Linked DNA regions of Homo sapiens: regions 1, 2, 4, 5, 6 and 7 are each linked to region 3. The links are contacts of gene promoters, found by promoter capture Hi-C in blood cells and fetal thymus (Javierre and others, 2016). All regions are on one chromosome and are shown on one strand. Each heading gives the region's core, a stretch centred on a gene start or on the middle of the fragment in contact. The rest is flanking DNA. Distances are from core to core; before and after follow the strand shown. Region 1 overlaps AHI1 (Abelson helper integration site 1). Region 2 overlaps AHI1 (Abelson helper integration site 1). Region 3 holds the start of MYB (MYB proto-oncogene, transcription factor). Region 4 holds the start of ALDH8A1 (aldehyde dehydrogenase 8 family member A1). Region 5 overlaps AHI1 (Abelson helper integration site 1). Region 6 overlaps HBS1L (HBS1 like translational GTPase). Region 7 overlaps HBS1L (HBS1 like translational GTPase).

The links. Contacts are between HindIII fragments. The CHiCAGO score rates a contact against its expected background, and 5 or more counts as called.
Region 1: a fragment that was not itself captured here is called in contact with the fragment with the promoter of MYB in region 3 in 2 of 17 cell types (erythroblasts and megakaryocytes); the score reaches 5.4 in erythroblasts.
Region 2: a contact is called between a fragment that was not itself captured here and the fragment with the promoter of MYB in region 3, in 8 of 17 cell types (megakaryocytes, erythroblasts, fetal thymus and 5 more). The highest score is 21.3, in megakaryocytes.
Region 4: the fragment with the promoter of ALDH8A1 here is called in contact with the fragment with the promoter of MYB in region 3 in 13 of 17 cell types (total CD4 T cells, activated CD4 T cells, naive CD4 T cells and 10 more); the score reaches 18.2 in total CD4 T cells.
Region 5: a contact is called between a fragment that was not itself captured here and the fragment with the promoter of MYB in region 3, in 1 of 17 cell types (megakaryocytes). The highest score is 5.8, in megakaryocytes.
Region 6: a contact is called between a fragment that was not itself captured here and the fragment with the promoter of MYB in region 3, in 5 of 17 cell types (activated CD4 T cells, total CD8 T cells, naive CD4 T cells and 2 more). The highest score is 7.9, in activated CD4 T cells.
Region 7: a fragment that was not itself captured here is called in contact with the fragment with the promoter of MYB in region 3 in 6 of 17 cell types (activated CD4 T cells, total CD8 T cells, fetal thymus and 3 more); the score reaches 5.8 in activated CD4 T cells.

The regions. Positions count from the first base shown.
Region 1 is chr6:135,395,890-135,399,411 of GRCh38, forward strand. The region is part of intron 22 of AHI1 (Abelson helper integration site 1); the gene reads right to left. Among named protein-coding and RNA genes, the nearest start is that of AHI1, 100 kb to the right of the region's middle. The HindIII fragment of the contact is 3,714 bases long and covers 1-3,429 here.
Region 2 is chr6:135,425,866-135,429,441 of GRCh38, forward strand. AHI1 (Abelson helper integration site 1) reads right to left here. Exons shown (of 29, transcript NM_001134831.2): 19 at 2,764-2,894; 20 at 1,302-1,442. Among named protein-coding and RNA genes, the nearest start is that of AHI1, 70 kb to the right of the region's middle. RefSeq lists a silencer at 72-272. The HindIII fragment of the contact is 4,672 bases long and covers 1-3,576 here.
Region 3 is chr6:135,179,664-135,183,272 of GRCh38, forward strand. It overlaps MYB (MYB proto-oncogene, transcription factor), which reads left to right and starts at 1,645. Exons shown (of 16, transcript NM_001130173.2): 1 at 1,645-1,873. The coding sequence starts at 1,851. RefSeq lists silencers at 764-873, 1,314-1,363, 1,434-1,653, 1,714-1,763, 2,813-2,892 and 2 more. The HindIII fragment of the contact is 5,797 bases long and covers 1-3,609 here.
Region 4 is chr6:134,947,825-134,951,542 of GRCh38, forward strand. It overlaps ALDH8A1 (aldehyde dehydrogenase 8 family member A1), which reads right to left and starts at 2,277. Exons shown (of 7, transcript NM_022568.4): 1 at 2,092-2,277. The coding sequence starts at 2,229. The HindIII fragment of the contact is 9,755 bases long and covers 365-3,718 here.
Region 5 is chr6:135,378,611-135,382,001 of GRCh38, forward strand. The region is part of intron 23 of AHI1 (Abelson helper integration site 1); the gene reads right to left. Among named protein-coding and RNA genes, the nearest start is that of AHI1, 120 kb to the right of the region's middle. The HindIII fragment of the contact is 1,121 bases long and covers 1,493-2,613 here.
Region 6 is chr6:134,974,233-134,977,610 of GRCh38, forward strand. The region is part of intron 15 of HBS1L (HBS1 like translational GTPase); the gene reads right to left. Among named protein-coding and RNA genes, the nearest start is that of MIR3662, 3.5 kb to the right of the region's middle. The HindIII fragment of the contact is 3,307 bases long and covers 1-3,265 here.
Region 7 is chr6:134,991,783-134,995,282 of GRCh38, forward strand. HBS1L (HBS1 like translational GTPase) reads right to left here. Exons shown (of 18, transcript NM_006620.4): 8 at 1,976-2,093. Among named protein-coding and RNA genes, the nearest start is that of MIR3662, 14 kb to the left of the region's middle. The HindIII fragment of the contact is 583 bases long and covers 995-1,577 here.

The sequences.
Region 1 (3,522 bases), core at 323-2,822, 220 kb after region 3:
GAGGACTTCTACTGTGCAAGCATTTAAAATTTTCCTTTTGATGTTCTGTATAAGACAATACTGGGCTCTTGTTACATGCCCTTTATCTGATTCATTATTTACATGTTTGTAAATTTTTTTTTCTATTTTTTGCTTTTAAACAGTGATAATAAACAGTATATCTTAGTTTAGGTTTTTCTCTTAGAGCAGAGTTAGCAAATTCAGTGAAAAAGTCAATTAAGACCATATGTTAATATGGTTTTAAAGTAACTAAACTATTATGTCATCTCAATAAAAAATAAAAGTATTTTCCAAAGTAGTTGGGGGGGTCAAATACCACATCAGTCCTAAAATATCACCCAGCTTTAAAAATTCTATCAAAATCCATTAAATACAGATCAAAACTGACCAGTTATAGTGATACAATACCTAAAACAACAAACTCATTTGATATCTTTGAGCTTCACTTTCCATCTTTAAATGGAGATAAGAAAAATAATATCTATACTTCAATGCGAATGTGCCAGGAAAGCAATAATGATGAACGGGTATCATAAAGTGCTATTCATATGTTAACCATAAAGCACTAATGAACATTAAATAAGAAATAGATTAAATAGAATATCTTGGCAAGGGCAAACCATAAAGTAGTATACAAATAAGGTGTTATATTAGTTATTATTAACATCACTAGAAGTAAGGGTAATTAGGTATTTATGATGTCATATGATGATGTAGCCAATTTTTCAGAGTTCTGTGCTTTCAAATGGAAAAGAACATATTTATCACTTAACTATTTAATTCACTTCTTTTTGGAATCATTTCTCAGTTTTACTTCCTGAAAATTTTTATCTTAAAATCAAGTAATGCATTTAAAAATCTGGTGCAAACAAACAGGTGTATGCTGGAGAAATGAAGATATATCTATATACACACACATCTTTGCACACACACACACCTACATATATCCATATCTATAGATATAGATATATCTATAGATACACACAATAGCCATTTATAGTCTTCTTCTTCAGAAATTTGTGTTAAAAACAAAAAATACCTGGAAAGTTAAAATAGGATACTTAAATGCCTCTGTTCAAACAGAAAGACTTGTCATTCTTTTACAACAAAATTTTTTTTTAAAAAACCTGTAATCTATAATTATATGTTCTTCCTAAACATTTTTATAATTCTGATCTTTCTTGACATAGTTTTTTACAGACTATTCAAATGTCCATAAAGTGATGAGAGCAGCAACGTAACAGAGCAGATAATTTCTAAAGTTTGGGGTAACTGTTAATTATTACTGTTATTATTAGATATTTGTTTTGAAATTAGAACTCAAATCATTTTCAAAGCAAGCTCGTACATATTTATTATTCCATTTAGAGGAAGAAAAATAATAATAACCATTAAATAGAGTGAAGCAATATCTATTTTTGAAATATGTGCTGCGGAAAAGAATTGCTTAATAATTTTACAACAACAGAAAGGTTGGTTAAGATAGTCTACCCTACACCAATCTACCCTCTTTTCACAACACCCTTTTCTGTTTGCTTCATGCAAAAACCACAGTCTGCCAAAGTCAGTTTAATACCTCCATATTGGAGAAAACTAAAAGCATAAAAATTTAATGAAATTCATAATAAAGAAAAAAAATCATCTGGAACTTCTGCCAAGTTAATCATAAAACTGTTTTGCCTACTCTTTTAGGGTATAAGCAGACAAGCAAAATATGCAAATACTAATTCTCTAGACGGGGGTTAATTTTCATGTTAAAAAACTTGCTGCTCTGAACATGAAATTGAATGCACAATATTAAGCAAGCTGACAATTAGTTTCTCTTTTAGTGATTAGTTAAAATTTAAAACCTTTGGGAGATATATAGTACTCATTTCCATGTATACTTACAAGTCTACCCTTTTAGCTAATTTTAGATAACACGCTACATTCACCTGAAGAATTGTTTATGAAGTTTCAAGCTGTGATGATATCATATCTCAAGTTGGTTTTAAATTATAACCGAAAGAATGTTAATGCTGTCTGTATACTTAAAAGTTCACAAATTCATCTCTCTCCCAGACAGCTGTCATATTTTTCCACTAATATGAATAATAATGCAGATAATATTTTAATCTGATGGCAGTTCTGGTGGCATTAGAAAAAAAGAAACCAATAATACCCAGGATGTTTTTTTTTTTTTTTTTTTTTTGCAAATCATGTATCTGTTGTAAAAATTAAAATATCAGTATTAAAGAAAAAGTTAAACAGAAAACTTGAGCCAAAGTGAGGTTCAAGATATTTGAAGTCAGGTATCTTTTACATTCTCATAATATAAATTTTAAGAGTAGCTTATGCTCTTGTGATTTCTAGCTTAGTAAAGTCTAAGCAATGAGTAGTCTATGGTATTATAAAGAGCAATTCAAATATGACCCCTCAGTCCTCAGATGTTTTCTTTACAAGCCAGGACAGAGAAGTGAAGGATTTGGAAGACAACACTGTAACTGTTAAAGAAAAATTTCTACAGCAATAAGATACCAGAAAAATCTTACCCCCAAACCAGTTCATTACTACTACATTAGCTAAAACCAGTATTCAAATTTGAATCAGTCACTATAAAGTTTTTTGGTTATATTTAATCGTGATTTTTGACCCTCTGATAGGTACCAAGGACTGGTGGTTCACAGATTACTGATATGACACTTTCATGTCAATTTCAAAATTAAGATCTAGTCCTGGCTCAAACCAATTATCCAGCAATATTCTTTAGGGTAAAGCAATTTACCTCAATGCATCTTGGTTTTCTCAAAACCTTTACCTCCTTTTCTCTCTTAGTTCACTGCCTTGCTTCACAGAGAAAATTTGGTCTTGAACCCCTGAACTTCTCATTTCCAAACTTATGAAAGAATGGACCTCTCCCACCTATCCTTATGTCTTTACTTCTAGGGTTAGAGGAAGAGGAGCATTCTGTTCAAGATTCATCCCTCAGTCCCCTTAGGGTTATCCTTAAAGCTCTTCCAAATTCTACCTTCAGGCCAGGCCCAACGACTAATGCTTATAATCCCAGCAATTTGGGAGGCTGAGGCAGGAGGATCACTTGAGTCCAAGAGTTCAAGACCAGCCTGGGCAACACAGTGAGACCTCATCTCTACAAAAAAATAAAAAATTAGCTGGGCGTGGCAGTGCACACCTGTGGTCTCAGCTACCCAGGAGGCTGAGGCAGGAGAACTGCTTAAGTCCAGAAGGTCGAGGCTGCATTGAGCTGTGATGATGCTACTGCACTCAGCTTGGGTGACAGGGAAGACCCTGCTTCAAAACGAAAAATTCTACTTTCGAATTCCTACTGGCTATTTCCCTGCAGGTTAGAAGCATAGACCCTTCTATTTTAGTACAAAAACAAAGAGGAAACAAACCAACTAAAACTCTCCCTCTGATTCCGTTACTTCCTTAAGCTTCGTTAAAAGCTAAACTCCTTGAAAAACAGCACACAACTGCAATCCATATATCTGAATCCTTCAGTCTTCAACCGGGTACAACAAAGCT
Region 2 (3,576 bases), core at 887-3,386, 250 kb after region 3:
AAGAAAAGATAGAGTGCAACTTTAATGTGTATGTGTAGTGAAAATTTCAAAGGCATAAAAAGCAAATTAGAAATTGAATGAAGACTACTGTAAAACCTCTTAAGAGTCTGAGGAAATAACTGTGCTGCCTATTTCCTGTATAACAGTTCCAAATATAAAGTACTTTGGTATAACTCTTCATTTATGTGAAGATTTAGAGTGGGTACAAAGAGAGAACTGTTTCAGGATACATGGTGAAACTAGACACCAGATTTGGACATTGAATGATTTGAGGAATCCATCTATTTTTTCCTATAATCAGGCAGTGTTTATCTTTGCTAATGTCTGCTTGTAATAGTAAATGGTACTGTGTTGCTTGGCAATTCTACCATTACTAACAGTGTTCTATAAATCTGAGTATGCATTGCAGAAATGATTTCTTCTCTATAAAATTCTTTAAAATAAGATTACATTTTGACTTTACACATTATTTTCTAGCATAATTTACCCTGGAAGGCATAATATAATCCACACTGTGATCAAGAACTTCAGATTTCTAACTTAATTGCCTAATTACTTAGTATTTATCACAACCATTAATCAATTCAATCTATATTAACTTAATACACTTAACTTTCCATAAGCAAATCAAAGAAACTAACAAAGACTTTTCATTTTTGTACAATACTATATGAAGAAAATAGAAATGCAATTTTGAGAATGACAGCACTAATAGTATAATATAGAAGAGTGGAATCCTAATTTCAGGATAGAAATTAAAGAAATATATGAAAACCAGCATATATCCAAAGAATTCTTAGAATACCATACTGTCCCTGAAAAATAATGTATCCACACTTTTTATTTCCTTATTATTTCTCAGAATGATAGAATAGTGTAATTGCGGACACGAAAGACATTAGATTTCTAATTCCAGGTGATGTTTTCACTGATGTGATTTTCCCCCTACTTTTTATGTTAAGAAACTCTCAAAACTACAATTTATTAAAACTATGTGCTTTAGTAACAACACAGGATAAAATATTAACTCAACAGTCAACTGAAAACATCAAAGATCTGTATTCCCTAAGTTTTATTTACCTTTTAAATTTAGTTAACATATTCCAAATAATTTTTAGGTGAATTCTATTTACTTAAATTGATTTACAAAGAAACTTGTGGCTAGCTTTCTGTGATTCCAACATAAGGGCACAATTATTATGTGTACTTTTGTCAACATTTGAATTCCAGACAGATTCCTGGTTTAGTCTAAATGTAAAGGTTACTCTAAAAATTCTTTACTTATCAAGTGGTAGACTTACCATGGAAATCGTAAATATACAGAAGAATTGGCTCATTTTGCCCAAATGCACAGAATGCAACCATATTTTCAAATGGATGATAAGAAATGTCTCGAATGGGTGACTTGAATGGCAAGTCAGAATACATGGCTACTTGTTCTCCTAAATAAAAAGAGAGATTCAAAAATGTATATCAGAGCATATCTGTATCGATAAATCTTCTCACAAGATTATTCTGCCATTTATTAGAAAATATTTATAGCAATGATGCTCACATTATTTATGTGAAAACCTCAAATATTTAAAAATGTTTGAGTAACAATGTATTAAATTATCTTTATTTTACATTCCACTGACCCTCCTCCTTCTACTTTCTACCTCTTCAATGAGGTTTTCAAGGCACAAAATAAAGACAAAGGGCACAGACGGAAGTAGAGAGGTATATGACTCTAAGATTGGAGATTGGACAGAGCTAAGCAAACTCCAAATGACAGAGAACTCTGGGTAGAACTACAGGAGAAATTACAGGACTCTAAAACTAAAGAAACTCTAGTTGGGTGAGCTTTGGTGAAGGATTAACTTTTCCATTTTTTTTTTCCCAGATGCTGTTTGAGGTACCCATTTGCTTGAAAGATACCTATGACTATGGCCTAAAAGATGTCTAAAGTAGAGATCTGTGGAATCCAGGAAAATCAGTCAGGAGTCAAAAAGCAAAGAATCTAGATTCATTTATTGAAGGCGAGACTTGTTGCTACTGAATTGATGCTAAAGCATCAAAACACGGTACAGGAAACAAACAATCAAACAAAAACCTAAGTTACCTGACTAGTCAAAATGCCTAACAGAAAGAATAAAAAAAAAACAAGGAAAAAATCAAATACTGTTCATTAAAGAAATTTTAAAGTTAGTTTTATGAAACTCTCTCAATTTCTTATTAAAAACATTCATGTAGCTTTAGCTTTTCTTTTGAAAAGCAAAGGTGAGGCACAAGTGAGCTTCCCAATGTAATTGTTTATTGGAAAAAAACTGAACTGCAGTATTTCAGGCAACTTGCTATTTAAGTTTCAGACATCAAAACTTTCACAGGTATGTTTCCGTTACTAATGAAAATATAGATGTTTAACAATTTGTCTACCTAATCATATTCCAAATTCAGCTTGTAACATTTTGTACTTTGTGTTAGCCTCCATTAAACGCTTTTCTAAGATCAGCAATGTCTCATTATAGGCCATGAAAGAACAAACCTTGAATTATAATGTGAAATTCTAAATCCATAAAGATATTAAAGCAATAGAGAACAAAATTTAATACAAGTTTAGACTGTAGCTGAGTTCCTTTAAAGGCTTTCTAATCTTAAAAAACATAATTGAAAACCCAAAATCAGAATTTCCTTGAAAATTATTCCATAAAATGGTAGAATTTTCACACTTCTTCAAACCCCTGTACCTCCCCAAATGATTTTTAAAGTTCAATAAACATTCACCTGTTTCTGGGTTCCAAACATACACTATACCATCCTCACTTCCAGCAAACAGAAAAGTCCCACATGGAGTCAAAGTACTATGAATCTTCTCCCGATAATTTGCTGCTCCTACAAACTTCCTTGCTACTAATCTACAAGCAAAAAAGATTTTACAAATGTAACTGTCTTAATCATGTAAATGACTGGTGGTATAAAATCTTTTCTCTTAAATACTTAATTTCCATTCAACAAACATTTTTTGAGAATCTGCCATATGGGAGACATTCTATAATATAATGGATGCAGAATAAAGGAGAGCTAGTCCCAAGAGCCCAGGGAGTTTATAATTTAGCAAGAGAGGAGAAACATGTCAACGTAAAATAGAAGGTGGATGTAGAACATACTGCAAAAGAAAAACAGAAGAGTTCTTTTCAAACTTGGACAAGAGAAATTAATTCTAGCTATAGAGCAAGAGAGACTACTTTATGGAAGTAGCATTTGAGCTGGTTACTAAACTAATGGATAGAATTTTTATACTCATATATTCTTCTGATGAATTTTTAAAATAATACAAGGAATATTTGATCTCTGAAAAAAAATTAGATAAAACATATTATTAAACCATCTGCTAAATATGGTACATAGCCTTCCATATTTTTTCACTCACGAAAAAATAGTAAACACCATTTCAGCACACACTTTGTGCCAGGTAAGTATTATTATCATCTCTAACATCAAACAAAAGTGCACTAGAAGTCCATGTTGATTTTCCCAGAACACTGCTTCCACCTTTTTCAGGAAGGATATTTCCCTACATTTGCGATTATTTGGAAA
Region 3 (3,609 bases), core at 395-2,894:
TTTGTTTATTTTTGATGTGAAGAAAGAAAATTATTATAGAATCTAGAAATAAATATTGGCTTTAAAAGTATTAATTTGCCTTGTCCTTTGTAATTGTGATCCGAAATATCTCACAATAATTTTGTTTCAGTGTTATTTTCTTCTCAGGAGGAAAGGAATGTTAAAACCTTACTAGCAACTAACACTTGATAAAGATTTAAACTATATAACAATTTTAAAGAAAGTCTAAAACACCAGATAGTCTTGAAACCTCGCATGCTTCACCGTTTAATAAAATTATGACTCATTTTAGTAAGAACATGCTTTTTTAGTAAGAAAAAATGCTTTCTGAGCTAAGTTTGAACTGCTGGGGCACATGGGACACCCACAAACCCAGTCAGCAGAAGTCTCAAACTCCTAAAAGATTAAAGGAAAAATACATTAGTGTGTACAGAGAATGAAAAAAAAATCCCCAATGGTTCTAATCTATAAACGGAAGTAAAACTAAAACTCCCCTAAAATCCCCCCAGTCATCAATCCTTATAAATTCAGCACTTATCTTCTTCCTTTACTTCTGGAGACCCTCATTAAACAACACGAAAGCCTTTGCTGACTTTTATCTCGTAAAATAGAGCCCTCAAATGACACTAAGCAGGGATACCGACCTCCAAAATCACAAACTGTTTTACTTCTAAAACCATGCATGCAAACGTGGGGTTTCCTGAGTTCTGCTAGGGGCGGGCTGTCTGGACCCCCGTGTATTTTTTTTTTTTTTTTTTTTTTTTTTTTTTTTTTGCAGGTGTGCAATCCAGGGTGCGCGCTCTGTGCAGGGAGGGGAGCAAAGGTGTGCGGTGGGCACCGCCTGGGCCGGGCGGGGCGGGGTGGGTGGGGCCCGGGTGTGTGCTGGGGTGAGAGTGAAGGACATGTGACAATACGACGGTGGCGGCTGCAGGATCCGGGAGGGGAGTGAAAGCTCCGCTGGGGCGCTCCATTAGTGAGCGGTGATGGTTGCCGCCCACTTGTATTGAAGCGTCCTTTGTCACTAACAAGTTAAATTAGAGATGTTATTTATTTAAGAAGAAGGAAAAAAAACCCTAGCCAAACAGCCTATGAATACATATGCTCACATCCCCTACTCCTCCAACTCCTAATTTCCCCGTCTCCAGAGGGCACAGTTGTAAACCTTGACGAAAATCCAATCTTCTGTGCGGGAATTTCCCCCCACCGCTTGCCGCCCCCGCGACAGTGAGTGGGAGCTGGAGGAGCTCTGGTCCCGCTGCCCGGGAGCACGCGGAGCCGGGCGACCGCGGTGCGGCAGCCAGGGAGGAGGGGAGGCGGCGGGACTGGGCGCGGGTCGGCGCCGCCGCGACCCGGGAGCGGGGTTTGCTCAGGAAAAGGCGCCGTCGCGGCCCCCGGCCACCCCTCCCTGGCCCCGGGCTCCCTGCCCGCGCGCCTCCCGGGCCTCGCGGCGCGCTAGGCGCACCGCGGCGGCGCGAGCGCCGAATGGGAGCGGCGACCCGGCCAGCCCGGCAGCCCCGCGGGCGGCAGCCAGGGCGACCGCGGAGGCGGCGGGCAGGGCGCGTGCGCACTGCAGGGGCGCCAGATTTGGCGGGAGGGGGAGTGTCCAAAGCTCTTTGTTTGATGGCATCTCTGTTTACAGAGTTTACACTTTAATATCAACCTGTTTCCTCCTCCTCCTTCTCCTCCTCCTCCGTGACCTCCTCCTCCTCTTTCTCCTGAGAAACTTCGCCCCAGCGGTGCGGAGCGCCGCTGCGCAGCCGGGGAGGGACGCAGGCAGGCGGCGGGCAGCGGGAGGCGGCAGCCCGGTGCGGTCCCCGCGGCTCTCGGCGGAGCCCCGCGCCCGCCGCGCCATGGCCCGAAGACCCCGGCACAGGTAACGGGGAGCCGGGCGGGCGGCCGAGGGCGGGGGCGCGCGGGGGCGCGCGGGGCGCCAGGCTCCCGGGAGCAGGTGGGAATTCGTTCCGGGATCATCTGAGGGGCTGTCAGACCCTCCGAGGACCTGGAGCCCCTGCCTCGGCAGCAGAAGCCGCTCCAGAGACTGATGAATGGAAGAGTCTTTGCGGGAAATGTATCCGGACGTTGGGAAGCACGCCCTGCGGCTCATTTTGCAAGTTGCATGGGGATACATTTTTCTTTAGGGGGAAAAAGAAAGCACGTTCCAGCCGAGGGCAGAGCGGTGCCCACCAGCCCCGGGGAGCCCACCAGGTGCCTGGCTTGATGCCGCGGGTGTCGGCGAGGGATCCGCAGCGTAATTGCTGGATGCATTGAGATATGTTTGGACTTGGAAGTGCAGAGCATATGGCAGATACAGGGAAAATGCTGGATTGTTTAGTAGCTGCAGGTAGTTCATTTAAATTTCATTCATTCTTTATGGAGGCGAGGACCAGTGTCAGCTGACAGGCGGCTGAAAAGCAGATTTTAGGGGGATAAAGGGGTCTCTACTTTTGCAAATTGTCTTAAGACCTGGTTTTGGAGGTTCGAATCATTTTTCTCTGAAAGGCTTTTACTTCCACTGCAAACATTGCACGCGCACCCACACGCGCCGCCGTCGCACATGTCACTGCACTTAGGGAGGCTCGCCGGGAAGATGGGTGCAGTCCCTTCACATTTTTGGCCGGACAGATGGGAAGAGGGAGAGGAGGAGGAGGAGGGAAATCCTCGTCCGAACTGTCAGTTGCTCGTTCCCCAGTCTCCACCGGCCTCTGGACTTTCCCAGCAGCACACGCCGGGGCTCCCTGCGAGCGGCGGGTGCCAGGGCTAGCTCGGCAGCCGTCGCAGTCGCCACTCGGCTCAAGGGGACAGAGGCCGGCAGCACCCAAGGCCGCTGCCGCGCAACCGGGACGCGATCCCCGCGGGCTCTGCCCCCAGGCGAAAGGTCCCTGCGCGGCGCGCACACGTGGATGCGGCTGAGGTCGCCGCGCCTTCTCGCACCCTCCTTCAGCCGCCTTAGGTCGCCCCGGCCGAGGCGCGGTGACCGGACAGACCCTCGCGAAGGAGTTCTAAGGCGAAGTCCATGGAGGCAAAGCAAATCCATTCGCCTTTCCTTAGATTGTTTGATTTTCTCCTACTGGTTTGTTGTTGAGCCTGCGGGCGCTGGTCCCCGCGCGGCGCTGGGAAGTTGCAAAGAGCGTGGGTGGAGACCCTGCAGCAGCACCCGCGGGCTGGGCTGGGCGGGGAGCAGCGCCGGGGCTTGGTTGGGCTCTGGGGACGAGAGGGCGACTTGGGGGAGCTCCGGGCTCCCTATGCCTACTCCGGAGCCTGGCCGCGCAGGACGGTGTGCTGCCCCTCGAGGGCTCCACTTTTCGCCTTTAGGACTTCACAGGACAGCTACCGGGGTCATCTGTTTTTTTTTTTTTTTTTTTTTTCGAGAGCTGAAACTGGCAGCAGGAGGAGGGAGTCGGGCAGGGGTGCTGGGAGGAGGCGCGGCAGCGGCTCCGCGCCCCGAGGTCTCGGCCGCCCCCGCGGGGCGGGGCCGCGCAGGTTCCCTGAGGCTCCAGGTAGCCCAGAGGGGAGGCGGCTGGGAGGGGCGGGAGCCTTGAACCTGCCTCAGGGGAAGAGAAACCCGACTGCGGGCTCGGAGCCGTTTCTTGCAAGGGCGAGCGTCAACTC
Region 4 (3,718 bases), core at 1,027-3,526, 230 kb before region 3:
AAAACGCATGTAGGTTTCTCAAAAAAAAAAAAATAAAAATAGAACAACAGTATGATCCAGCAATCCCACTACTGGAAATTTATCCAAAGAAAAGGAAATCAGTATACTGAAGAGATACCTGTACCCCCATATTTGTTGAAGCACTATTTACAATAGTCAAGATATGGACTCAACCTAATGTCCATCAACAGCTGAATGGATAAAGAAAATATGGTATATATACACAATGGAATATTATTCAGCCATAAAAAGGAACAAAATCCTGTCATTTGCACCAACACGATTTGAGCTGGAGGATATTACGTTAAGTGAAGTAAGCAAGGCACAAAAATACAAATATTACATGTTCTCACTCATATGTGGAAGCTTAAAAAAGTTGATCTCATGGAGGTAGAGAGTACAATTATGGTTACCAGAGGCTGGGAAGGGTAGAGGAGAGGATAGAGGTTGGCTAATTAATACAAAAATATGGTTAAAAGGAATAAGTTCTAGTAGAGTGACAATAGTTAACAATAATTTATTGTATATTTCACAATAGTTAGAAGAAAAGATTTGGAATGTTCCCAACACCAAGAAATGATAAATGTTTAATGTGATGGAGATCCTAATTACCCTGATTTGATCATGACACATTGTATGCATGTATCAAAATGTCACATATGCCCATAAAGATGTACAATTATTATGTATCAATTTTTTAATTTTTTGTTAAAAAAGGGCTTAATGACTGCAAAGCACAAAGCAAAAGTTGAATAAACGGGAGCCACTGTTAGCAGCACCAGCAACATTTTCCTGAGTGATGTTTTGGAAATTGGACATGCAGTTTGTATGGTAACCATATTTTTCAAGCCGGAAAAAACTATGACTTATGGGATCAGATAGGATATTTGGAAGTTGGATTGCTGAGAAACTGAACATATCTATTACTCTACTAGCTAGCGCATCCATAGCTCATTCTATTTTCTAAAAAGTTATGAGCCATTAGCTGCAGGAAATATTTCAGCTGAATTTGGCATGTTTGTCATTTTTAACTTCACTTTGGCAAACAAGGAAGAGTGGAAAACACAAAGCTGGATTTCCCAGAGCTGTGTTAAGTCATTTGAAGCAAACAAAATTGCAGTTTATAATTTAACCAATGCATTAACCAACATTTGCAAACATTAATCCCTAAGTCTGAAGGTTTACTTTAAATGCAAGACAGATTTGAAGTATTAACAAAAAAGAAAAAAAATAGCAATGTTCTTAAAAAAAAACTTTGCATGGAATATATATTTTTATAGGAAGACTATATTTTAAATAATCTAGTTATTTGTGCCTTAAAAAGAATAAATTATAATTCATAAGGCATTAGATGACTATATATACATCAGCTACATTTACCACTTCAGATATATTTACATTCTCAGTGCAATAATTGATAGCTAATCAAATATATCTCAAATATTTTACAAAATTCTCCAAGTAAAATTAATTCTACATCACCAAAAAAATGTAATGCATATGCCATTAAACACTTTGGATAAGAAAAAAGACGCTGTTAAATCTAACTCCAAAAATATATGGGAATTTGATTTTGAGTTTCATCATTCAAATGATTGATTTTATTTTACTAGGTATTTTGAAGACATGACAAATTATGAGAAGACAATCTAAAACAAAGCCCACAGTTTTTTGCTTGTTTGTTTATTTTAGTAAAGCTATACTTTTTTTTTAATTCCATGGATATAGTGGTAAATTTAAGCAGTGCGTGGTGGAGAAAAGGGAATATTTAACAAAGTGATAGCTCTTACAAATAATACTTTGTACTAGACACTGATTAGGAAATGTTTGAGAATTGCAAAAAAAAACTGCACACAGGGCTGTGTTAGGTTGGCTAGAAAAATGACTTACTTTCTGCATATAGGAAGAGATTTGTTCTAGGTATCATACAGTCCAGTTACAAGGTACATCTTCTGAGAACTAGAATCTTCCTTCTATCATGTTTAACAATCCTACATCTTCCCCCAACTCCCTCTGCTTTTAGAAAACTGTTACCCATAATTGGCCAACATATTAAACACATTTCAGTCTTCTTTAAGTGCATATACTCACCTCGTCTTTTCCACTATTTGGCACTCTGCAATACACTTCCCCTGTTGATGGGTCGTAAGAATCTATATATGAGCTACAAGGTAAAAATTTTCCATCTATGAAGTTTTCCAGCATCAAAAGTGCGTTTGTTCCAGCCATAGCAAGGAAAAATTCTGCCTTTCCTCTTTACGACTGAGCACTCAGGTTGTCCCCACCACTGTCTGGACTCCTGAGTGAGCCTCCCCCTTCCCAGCCCCCATCTTCCCCTTTACCAATCAGTGAATGTGGGAGGGCACCTGACGCTCTCAGAGAGCATTCCAGTCTCCAAACTCAGAACTAAGAGAGTGGCTGAATGTTTCACAGACTTCTAGTACATTACCTGACATGGATAATTGTGTGTAAAAGTAACAGCTACTTACTTATGTGTTCATAGCCCTTTAAATCATCAGAAGGCATCTGTGCATGTGATTTTATTGGGTTCACACCGTAAACTGTTCATTGCTCAAACACTGATTGGATGCCAGGCCCCAAAGCAAGTCCTTTACATGAATTTACTCGTTTATTCCACACAACAATCCTATATGAAGTAACCATTACTTCCTCTCTTTTATAGAAGAAACTGAGCCTTGGAGAGGTTAGACCATTTTTCCAAGGTCACATAGTTAGCAGGGGATGAACTGTAGCCCTTTAATCTCCAAATCATATACTTTTTCCTCAATGCATCACTGCTTACCCTGCAGAGGTAACTGAAGACAGATGCCCTCTTTCCGTGGCTCATCTGTGTTTCTTTACCTTGGCTGCCCTCTCTTGGAAGAGCTGTCTCTCCATCCCAAAACCGGGGCCACAGTGGCTGCTCACATCTTCCTAGATGTGCCATGGAGATAAAGACAAGCCAAAAACATGTGTGACACATATAGCAAGGGCTTCAGATCCCTGATGTAGCTGAGAATTTCTACAAATTGGTAAGAGAAATGAGCACCCCAACAGAAAAGATAAGCAAAGATACAAAAAAGCAATCCATAGGAAAAGGAACACAATTGGCTAATGAATATATTAACAATGTTCAGCCTTGTTGTTAAGCAAGGAATGTGAAATACAGAGGTGGCCTGATTTGCCAATCATACTGGAGAGCATTTTTAAAGATTGAGAACATCTACTCTGTGAGGATGTGGAGAATCATCCCTAGTCCATAGGCGGGAGGGTTCACAGAACACTGCTTGGGGCAATTTGTCAGGGTCTGGTCAATTTCTCTTCTAGGAATCTCTCCTACAGAATTACGTGCTCATGAACAAGTACATAAGTCACAGGACATCCTTTTTTATCATAATTTAAAAATCAAAACAACCTAAAGTCCATCAATTGGAGAATATTAGAGTATAATTGTTATATTCTTAACAGGGAATACTACTTAGACATTAGAAGGATGCATTGTTAAGTGAAAAAATAAAACTAGTGAATAATATATACAGCATAGTTTCTTTGGCTATTTACATGGTTGACAGGAAGCCGTTTTAAACTGCTTGGATATTTTATGGCAAGCCTATATTACTTTTATAATTATGATTTATAGTTATAATTCAGTTGAAGGTTAGGTACCAATATTCTAAAATTCATTGATCACATGAGGGCACTTGCTGGCCGTGCACCT
Region 5 (3,391 bases), core at 803-3,302, 200 kb after region 3:
ATATAATTTAATATCTGTCTTTAACATTATTTTAACAATAATGTTATAGATTGAAAGTAGATTAACAATAGATTAACATAGATTTAACAATATATTATGGACTGAAAATCAAAAGTATAAATATAACAAGGATAAGAAAGGTAAATTTATAATTTCAGTATTTCCTTTTTACTGATTTGTTATTACAATGCAGAGTTAAAAAAATACAACAACAAAAGAAGCTTCTTGTATTTTCTTGTTTCCTCCTTTTTTTCCTTACTGTCTTTCTGGGTAAGAAACATCCAAGTTATCCACCTCATAGTCACCCCTAATAGTTCTTAGTTTCTTTTCACTAAATAGCCTCTTCCAGCTTATCTCATTAACTCCCATGGGCTCAAATACCACACATATACCAATGACTCCTTCATCTATACTTACACTCTAAGCCTATATTCCAAAATACACTGTATAGTTCCTAGCACAGGGCTTGACTCATAGTAGGATATTTAATAAATGAGGTTCAAATGATTGAGCAAGCTATTAGATATCGTGTTTCAGAAATGCCATAATATCTTGTAGGCATTTCAAACTTAATATATCTAAAATACAATTCATTATCTTCCTCTCAATATTCCTGTATCTCCTATTTTCATTTATGGATTGCTATCCACTCATTCACCTAAATTAGAAGCCTCTGGCACCCTCAAATTCTACTTCTCTATCTTCACTCACATTCTAGACCTCCACGTTAATGATTTAACATCTCCACTCTCTTACTTCAACCCCCTTCTCCTACCTCAATTATTAAATCACCTTTTAACTGGCCTTCCTAGCTGTAATGCCCTAACACCTTTTATGATTCTTCTCATCTTACAATTAGTTCACATACTGTCTTCTCTATGAGGCCTTATTGTCTTCTTTAACACAGAATTTGTTACTATATCATCTGCATTCTCTAGTACACTTTGTTCATTCCTTTTACAGCAAATATCAAACTATGCAATCCCATCTACCTACCTATTTAAAAATAGGTTTCCAGTGAATACTAGCAGTGCTAGGGATGGGGCTGAGTTCTGCACTTCATTCCTACAAGGTTCTGTACAATCTGGGCCTGCTGCTACCTCTCTGAACTTACTGTTTTCTACTCTCCTCCTTGTTCCCTCCAATCTAGCTATACTGACCTCTTTGCTGTTCAAAATGCATACCAAGTACATTCCTGTTTCAGGATCTTGGATGGGGATGCTATTCTCCCAAACAACTTACAGCTTCCTAGCTTCCTTCCTTCCTAGCTTCCTTTTTTCCAAGCTCCCTTCCCTTTCCTTCCTTCCTTCCTCCCTCCCTCCCCCAACTCCCTCCCTCCTTCCCCTTCTCCCTCCCTCCCTCCCCTTCACCCTCTCCCTCCCTCCCCTTCCCCTCTTCCTCCCTCCTTCCTTCCTTCCTTCCTCCCTCCCTCCCTCTCTTTCTTCTTCTTTGTCGTCATCTGAATTTTGCTTAATTCTCAGCTACTTTGTGAAGCTTTCCTTGACCACTCCATTTAAACAGCAACCCAACCCTACTCCTCAGGTGCAACTCCCTTCCCTGCTTTGTCGTTATAATGTTTTTATTTAACAGCCCTCTGCATCCATGGGTTCTGCATCCACGCATTCAACCAACCATGGATTGAAACTATTCAGAAAAGAAATGCATCTGTAATGAACACATAGACTTTTTTCTTGTCATTATTCCCTATACAATACGGGACAACTATTTATACAGCATTTACATTGTATTAGGTATTATAAGTAATCTAGAGATTATTTAAAGTATATAGGAGGATGTACACAGGCAATATCCAAATACTGTCCATTTTATATTGGGGACTTGAGCATCCAAGGACCTTGCTATCTACAAAGGGTCGTAAAACCAACTACCCAGATACTGAGGGATAACCAGACTACATTTGCTTAATGTCATTCTCCACTAGAAGGTAAGCTACACAAAGATGTGGAGTTTTACCAGTTTTGTTCACTGATACGTTCAGAGCATGTATAAAAGTGCCTGGGACACTGTAAGTATGCACTGGGTACTTACTGAATGTATAAATGCTCTTGCATTCCCAGTACCTGCATGTGTACAAATTAAACATCTTTTTAAGTAAAATAACCCCCCCCCCCCCAAAAAAAAAGTACAAAGTTAAAACAAGAAGGGATTTAATGGTGGAAAACATTTTTTGGTCCATTACATTGGTATGGTATTGAGAATGTGAGATGGTGTGAACCCATTTTTTCCAGGTCTTTCCATAAAAGAGACATTTTAAGTTCTAGGGAAAACTTTTAAATTTAAACTTTGAACATAAGCATGATGATTTAGAAAAAGATTTTCATATCCAAAGCAAAGAGAAGTTATTTTTAAAAATATGCTTATTATGTTATTTTTTCCCTGCAGTAGTTCAGTGAACATTAAGCACATTAATTTGCCTGTTATATGTGCATTTATATCTGCCTTTTACATTAGCTTTTAAAGTGTTTTACTTTCAACTCTTCATTAAATCTTCACTTCAAAATCAGACTAAAAAGACTGAGATAACATTATGCCTCATAATGTCACTACTGAAGAAGGGAAAAAAAAAGGAAAAGTGGACTCCCACAAAAAACAAGCTTCACTGATTCTAAGTTGGCCAAAACAAAACACCTGTTCATGCCCTATATTTCTCAGACAAATTTAACAGCAATGAGATGTAAAAGACTTGATTCCTTTTAAAAAAAGTGGCAAGTATACACAATAACACATATACATACAAACACCCATATAGACATTAATATGAAATACAAACACACCCACATAGACATTAATATGAAATAAACTGGAGTCCTACTAAGCATAAACTCACTTATTCTCAGAATGCCGTAAGATCCTTGGGAGGCAGATTTGAAGAAAGCATACTAAGATCATTATATGACTTGTGACACATGAGCCTTACAAAAGGCCAGCAACGAAATCCAGATTCTGAGTTCTAAGCTATCATTTAGAGAACTCCAAAATAGATGATACTGTTGTATACTGCATGGGCAAGATAAATTTCTAAACAAGGCCATAAAACTAAGTGCACTTTATAAGGATGATACATGTAATCGGACTTACTCTCCCCTCTGTGCTGCCACAGTGTTTTATACGCATGCCCTGTTGAATTTACCACCATCATATTATAACTATTTCTTTGCCTGCTGGACTCCCCAGATAGACTGGAAAGCCTCTGAGGGCTTTCATCTTCCATTTCTCGCAGTGCTTGGCAGAGTCTCTGTTACATAGTAGGCTCTCCATAAACAATGCTTGATGAAATGCTTCAATTAACTTTTGAAAATATTAAAAATGTTTTTATTTTTTAAACTGAATAACAGTTTTCATTAGAGTACTTCTATTAAAATGTGTTATT
Region 6 (3,378 bases), core at 362-2,861, 210 kb before region 3:
ATCAAGCAGTGAGAATAAATCAGTAATAAAAAAAAAATTTTCAACAACAACAAAAAAGCTCAGGGCCAGATGGATCCATAGCCAAATTCTACCAGACATTCAAAGAAATAATACCAATCCTACTGAAACTATTAAAAGACTGAGAAAGAGAGAATCTTCTCTAACTCATTCCATAAAGCCAGTATCATCACCCTGATAACAAAACCAGGAAAGGACATAACAAAAAAAGAAAGCTACAGACCAACACCCCTGATAAACACAGATGCAAAAATCCCTAACAAAATACTAGCAAACCAAGTCCAACAGCATATCCAAAAGACATTTTATCATGATCAAGGAGGTTTCCTCCCAAGGATGCAGGAATGGTTCAGCATATGCAAGTCAATAAATGTGATTCACCACTGAAACAATTAAAAGCAAAAAAAAAACAGATGATCATCTCAATAGATGCGGAAAAAGCACTAGATAAAATCCAGGATCCCTTAATGATAAAATGTTCAATAAACTAGGCAAAGAGGAAACATACCTCAAAATAATAAAAGCCACATATGACAAACCCACAGCCAACATCATACTAAATGGGGAAAAGTTGAAAGCATTCCCCCTAAGAACTGAAACAAGACAAGGATGTTCACTCTCATCACTTCTATTAAACACAGTACTGGAAGTCCTAGCCAGAGCAATCAGGCAAGAGAAAGAAATCAAGGGCATCCAAATTGGAAAAGAGTAAGTCAAACTATCTCTGTTTGCCAATGATATAATTACATACCTAAAAAATCCTAAAGATTCCTCCCAAACAACACCTAGATTTGATAAATGAATTCAGTAAAGTCTCAGGTTACAAAATCAATGTACACAAATCAGTAGCACCAACAACGATCAAGCTGAGAATCAAATCAAGAACAAGAACTTAATCCCTTTTACAATAGCTACAAAACCAACCAACCAACCCACCTAGGAATGTACTTAGCCAAGGAGGTGAAAGATCTCTTACAAGGAGAACTACAAAACACAGCTGAAAGAAATCATGGATGACAAATGAACAGAGATACATCCCATGCTCATGAATTGGAAGAATCAATATCATGGAAGAGACCACATTGCCCAATCTACAGATTTGGTGCAAATCCTGTCAAAATACTAACATCATTTTCCACAAGATTAGAAAAAACAATCCTAAAATTCATATGGAACCCAAAAAGAGCCCAATTAGCCAAAGCAGTCCTAAGCAAAAAGAGCAAATCTGGAGGCATCACACTACCCTACTTCAAATTATACTACAGGCTATAATAACCAAAACAGCATGGTACTAGTATAAAGGTAGATTCATAGACCAATGCAACAGAATAGAGAACCCAGAAACAAAGCCAAATACTTAACAACCAACTAATCTTTGACAAGGCATGCAAAAACATAAATTGGGGAAAGGACACCCTATTCAATGGATGGTGCTGGGAAAATGGATGGTGCTGGATAGCTACATATGGAAGAACGAAAACTGGATTCCTATCTCTCACTACATGCAAGAGTTAACTCAAGAGGGACTTGGATCTAGGAACTGAAACCATGGAAATTCTGGAGGAAAACCTGGGAGAGGTTCTTCTGGACATTGGCCTAGGTAAGAATTTATGACTAAGACCCCCAAAGCAGATTCAACGGAAATAAAAATAAATAGATAAGACCTAATTAAGCTAAAGAGCTAGTGCACAGCAAAGAAATCCTGAACATAGTAAACAGACAATCCACAGAATGGAAGAAAATATTTGCAAACTATGCATCTGACAGGACTAGTATCCAGAATCTACAAAAGACTCAAATCAGCAAGAAAAAAAAGCAAACAATTCCATCAGGAAATGGGCAAGTGACATGAGCAGACACTTCTCAAAAGAAGACATACAAATGGCCAAGAAACATATGAAAAAATGCTCAACATCATTAATCATCGAGGAAGTACAAATCAAAGCCACAATGGGATACCACCTTACTCCAGCCAGAATGGCCATTATTAAAAAGTCAAAAAACAATAGATGTTGCCCTGTATGCGATGAAGAAGGGAACACTTGTGCACTGCTGGTAGGAATGTGGATTGGTATAGCCTCTGAGGAAAACAGAACAGAGATTTCTCAAAGAACGAAAAGTAGATCTACCAGTTGATCCAGCAGTCTCACTACTGGGTATCTACCCAAAGGAAAATAAGTCATTATATCAAAAAGATACTTGAATGCATGTTTATCACAGCACAATTTACAGTTGCAAGAATGTGGAACCAACCTAAGTGCCCATCAACCAATGAGTGGATAGAGAAAACGTATATGTACACCATGGAATACTACTCAGCCATACAAGGGTAGAGATAGTGTGTTTTGCAGCAACTTGGATAGGGCTGGAGGATATTATTCTAAGAGAAGTAACTTAGGAATGAAAAACCAAATAGCATATGTGCTTACTTAAAAGTGGGAGCTAAGCTATGGGTACACAAAGACATACAGAACAGTATAGGGGACACTGGAGACTCAGTAGCGGGTAGGGCTTGAAGGGGGTGAGGGATAAGAAACTACATCTTGGGTACAATATACACTACTTGGGTGATGGGTGCACTAAAATCTTAGATTTCACCATTATACAATTTATCCATGTAATCAAAAACCACTAGTTGGTAAAAAGAAGTAAAAAGAAAATTGACAAATAAATAAAAAACAAAGGAAAAAATTACTTGTACCCAAAAGCTACTGAAATAGAGTTTCCCATACAAAATAGGGAAAATTTAAATATATTTATGTAGTATTATGGCATTAGTCCCTAAACAGTAAAATTTTAATAGCTTAGGAAACCTTTGTTTGCTTAAAAAATTTTTTTTCAAGTTTTTCTCCCATAGGGAGTAGACTGACAAAATATGGCCATATTTTTCTGAAACAAATTTGATCCTGGTATTTCTGAATCAATATATGCTGGCAGAATCTCCTAAAGCAACAGTGAAAAACTTGCAATTCATGCTTATTTTTAAGAAACTACAGTAGTCAGGGAGACAGTATTACTATTCAAAGTCACTTCTGACCTCTTCATCCCTCTACCTCTCCATTGGCAAATATTATTATTGCATGAGTAAAAATATGCAGTAACCAACCCCTCCTTTGCCTCATAGGACATACTGCTTTCTGTGAATGAGTTCCATTCGCTCACAACAATTAACTTGTTGTTACTTGATGATCAATACATGAATTCTGAATATTTAAGTATCTTCAACTATAGCAATTTTTTTAAAAGAAGCTTTTCTTTTCTAGTGTATGGAAGAAATGGAATATAATTATGTAAGTAAAGTACCTAAATAGTACCTTAAAATATAATTTTACATGATCAAATTAATATAGAAATAATTAC
Region 7 (3,500 bases), core at 36-2,535, 190 kb before region 3:
TTTTTGGCTGGGCACAGTGGCTCATGCCTGTAATCCCAACACTTTGGGAGGCTGAGGTGGGGATTGCTTGAGCCCAGGATTTCAAGACCAGCATGGGCAATACAGTGAGATCCCATCTTTACAAAAAACTAAAAAATTAGCCAGGCATGGTGGCACATGCCTGCAGTCCCAGCTACTCAGGAGGCTGGGGTGAGAGGATCCCTTGAGCCCGGGAAGTTGTGGATGCAGTGACTGGTGACTGTGCCACTGCACTCCAGCCTGGGCTACAGAGTGAGACTCTGTCTCAAAAAATTAATATTTTAATGAGTAGATCCCAGAAAACGGGTAATTGCTTGAAGTCATGTTTTTGCCATGTAACAGAGTCAAGTTATTTTAACTCTTCATGTTTTCCAGTAATCATCCATTATGAAAGAAATCAATGTCCTATATATGCAGTGCTATTTTCATTGCTTTAATAATTTAAAGTTACGGTGATGCACAGCATAATGACGTTTTGGTCAACCATGGACCGCATACGTGATGGTGGTCCCATAAGATTATAATGGAGCTGAAAAACTCCCATTGCCTGGTGATGTCATAGTCGCCATAATGTCATAGCACCATGCATTACTCATGTATCTGTGATGATACTGGTATAAACAAATCTACTGCGCTGCCAATTGTATAAAAGAATATAGCATATGCAATTATGTATAGTACTTTATAATGATAATTATGATAGTGGTTTATGTACTTACTATTTTTCACTTCTGATGATCCTGATCCTGTGTAGGCCTAGGCTAATGTGCGTATTTGTGTCTTTGTTTTTCACCAAAAAAAGTTTAAAGTAAAAAATACATATTAAAAAAAGCTTATGGAATAAGACTATACAGAAAGAAAATATTTTCGTACAGCTGTACAACGTTTGTGCTTTAAGCTAAGTGTTATTATAAGAGAGTCAGAAAGTTAAAAAAAATTTAAATGTTTATAAAGTAAAAAAAGCTACAGTAAGCTAAGCTTAATTTACTATTAAAGAAAAACATATTTTTAAATAAATGTAGTGTCCCCTGAGTGTACAGTGTTTGTAAAGTATACAGTCGTGTCCTAGGCCTTCACATTCACTCACTGAATCACCCAGAGCAACTTCCAGTCCTGCGAGCTCCATTCATGGTAAGTGCCCTATACAGGTGTACCATTTTTTATCTTTTATGCCCTATTTTTACTGTACCTTTTCTATGATATGCTTAGATCAGTTTAGATACACAAATATTTACCACTGTGCCACAACTGCTTACAGTATTCAATACAGTAATATGTTATACATGTTTGTTGCCTTGGAACTATAGGTTCCATGTAGCCTAGGTGTATAAAAGATGTTACCATCCAGATTTGTGTAAGTAAACTCAAATATGTTCACAAATGATGAAACTGCCTAACAACTCACTTCTCAGAATATTTCCTTATCATTAAGGGATGTATGAATGCAAATTATATTTGATTTTTTGCAGTATTCTTATTAAGAATCATGTAATTTACAAATTGCAATGCTTTTTTAATATTATAAAGAAAGTAAATAAACCACTGGGCGAAAATACCCAAGCTTCATTATTTCTGCATAAACAAGCTCTTTAAAAAGATATAGAACTTGAATATATTGAAAGACATAAGGCAGATTTTGAAATACTCAGGCCAACTTATCAATAAAGGAAATATGAAGCTATACTCATCAAGTCCTTTACCATTACTTTTACGATAAAGAAACTCATAGCTTTTATACATTTTGTTTCTTTGTAAGAAATTTTAAAAGGTTTTACAAAGTACAGGTAGAAAGATCATGAAAAATACAATATTGCTCTTTTTGTTCAAGCTTTATAAAGGTTAAAATTTTTAATTTTAAAATATTTTAAAAGTCAAAATCCTAGAATTGTAACCTCAGCATCAGAAAATTTTATGTAAAGTACAATCAGCACACTATAGTGAAGAAAACAGCAGTTACCTGGGCTGCTCCTGTAATCATATTTGGAATGAAGTCCTTATGGCCTGGAGCATCCATTAATGTAATAACTTTGGTTGTGGTTTCAAACTTTGTCATACCAACATCCATGGTTACTCCCCTTAAACAAAACATAACATGGTTAGAATGTACGATATAAATAGTGCTATAGAGTAAATTAATAATAGTCTACATGACCATCTACATTCTTAGGTAAAAATGGAAATTGTTTTTATAGACTATTATTTTTGAATAATTAAATTATCAATCGGGGCTGGAATTTCTGCTATAATAGAAGTGCATCCATATGGTTTTAACATAAAAGGGAGGACAAAGTAAGAGCTCAATAAAAATGATAGTTATGCCCTATTATCTTATTTGTTTTGTAAGAAATAGTGTAAATTGTGAAGAAGGATACATGGGGACAACTCTAAATGGGGGGAAAATACTGCATATGAGAAAAGACAAATGCAAAATTACCACGACCGAGAGGTAATTTTCTTCACGTTCTACACTTATGCTTCACTAATTATAGAAATGAGCTTATAAAACTTAATTTGCAAGGCTGGTTAATATGCTACATATTTAGAAAACATAAGATATCAAAGCAGATGCCTAATTTTTAAAAAACAGAGATAGATGAACAGCAGATTGCTTTGTATCCTATTTAATTCTTCCTGGAGACCAACATAGTGCCTTTTTTCAGCCACAAAAATGTAGATTCAGATTAGTGAAATGCTTGGGACTAGAAGCTTTTCAAATTACAGACTTTTTTGGACTTGGAATATTTGCATATACAAAATGAGGTATCTTGGGGATGGGACCCACATCTAAACACAAAATTCCTTTGTTTCATATACACATTATACACATAGCCTGAAGGGAATCTTATGCAACATTTTCAGTCATTTTGTGTGACCTGTCACATGAGATCAGATGTAGAATGTTTCACTTGTGATGTCATGTCAGCACTCAAAAAGTTTCAGATTTTGGAGCATTTCAAATTTCATATTTTCAGATTAGGGATGCTTAACCTGTATAAGAAGGCCCAAGGAAGGTCTACAAGGGCACTCAGTCATTCTAGGCCTCAGGAATTTAAACAGGGAAATCATGTGGCAATAAACTAGGTTTGCCCCAGAATCACCCAAAGTAAGGAATAATAATACTCCCTTTTACTACCAAAAGAGTACAACAATTAGAATAATGAACTATAGGTTTGCCCTAGCAATAAAGTAACTGTAGGTCTCCTTAGTCAAGCCATTTTAGCTTAATCTGAAAGCATGGGCCATCCTAGTTTGCTAAAGTGACGCTTAATTCTCTTTAATAATTCCCAAATACTCTAGGGACCACAGACACCTTCAGAGTAATGGTGAACTAAGACTTATTCTGAGATCCTCCCTAGACTGACCTGGGTATACTCTGCTGACACAGCTCTGATTTCAATTTGTAACCCTAAGGATATGAAATGTCACTCAATTTACTAATTTCTGTTCTTCAGTATCTGAGAAGACCAGGGGATTTACAAATA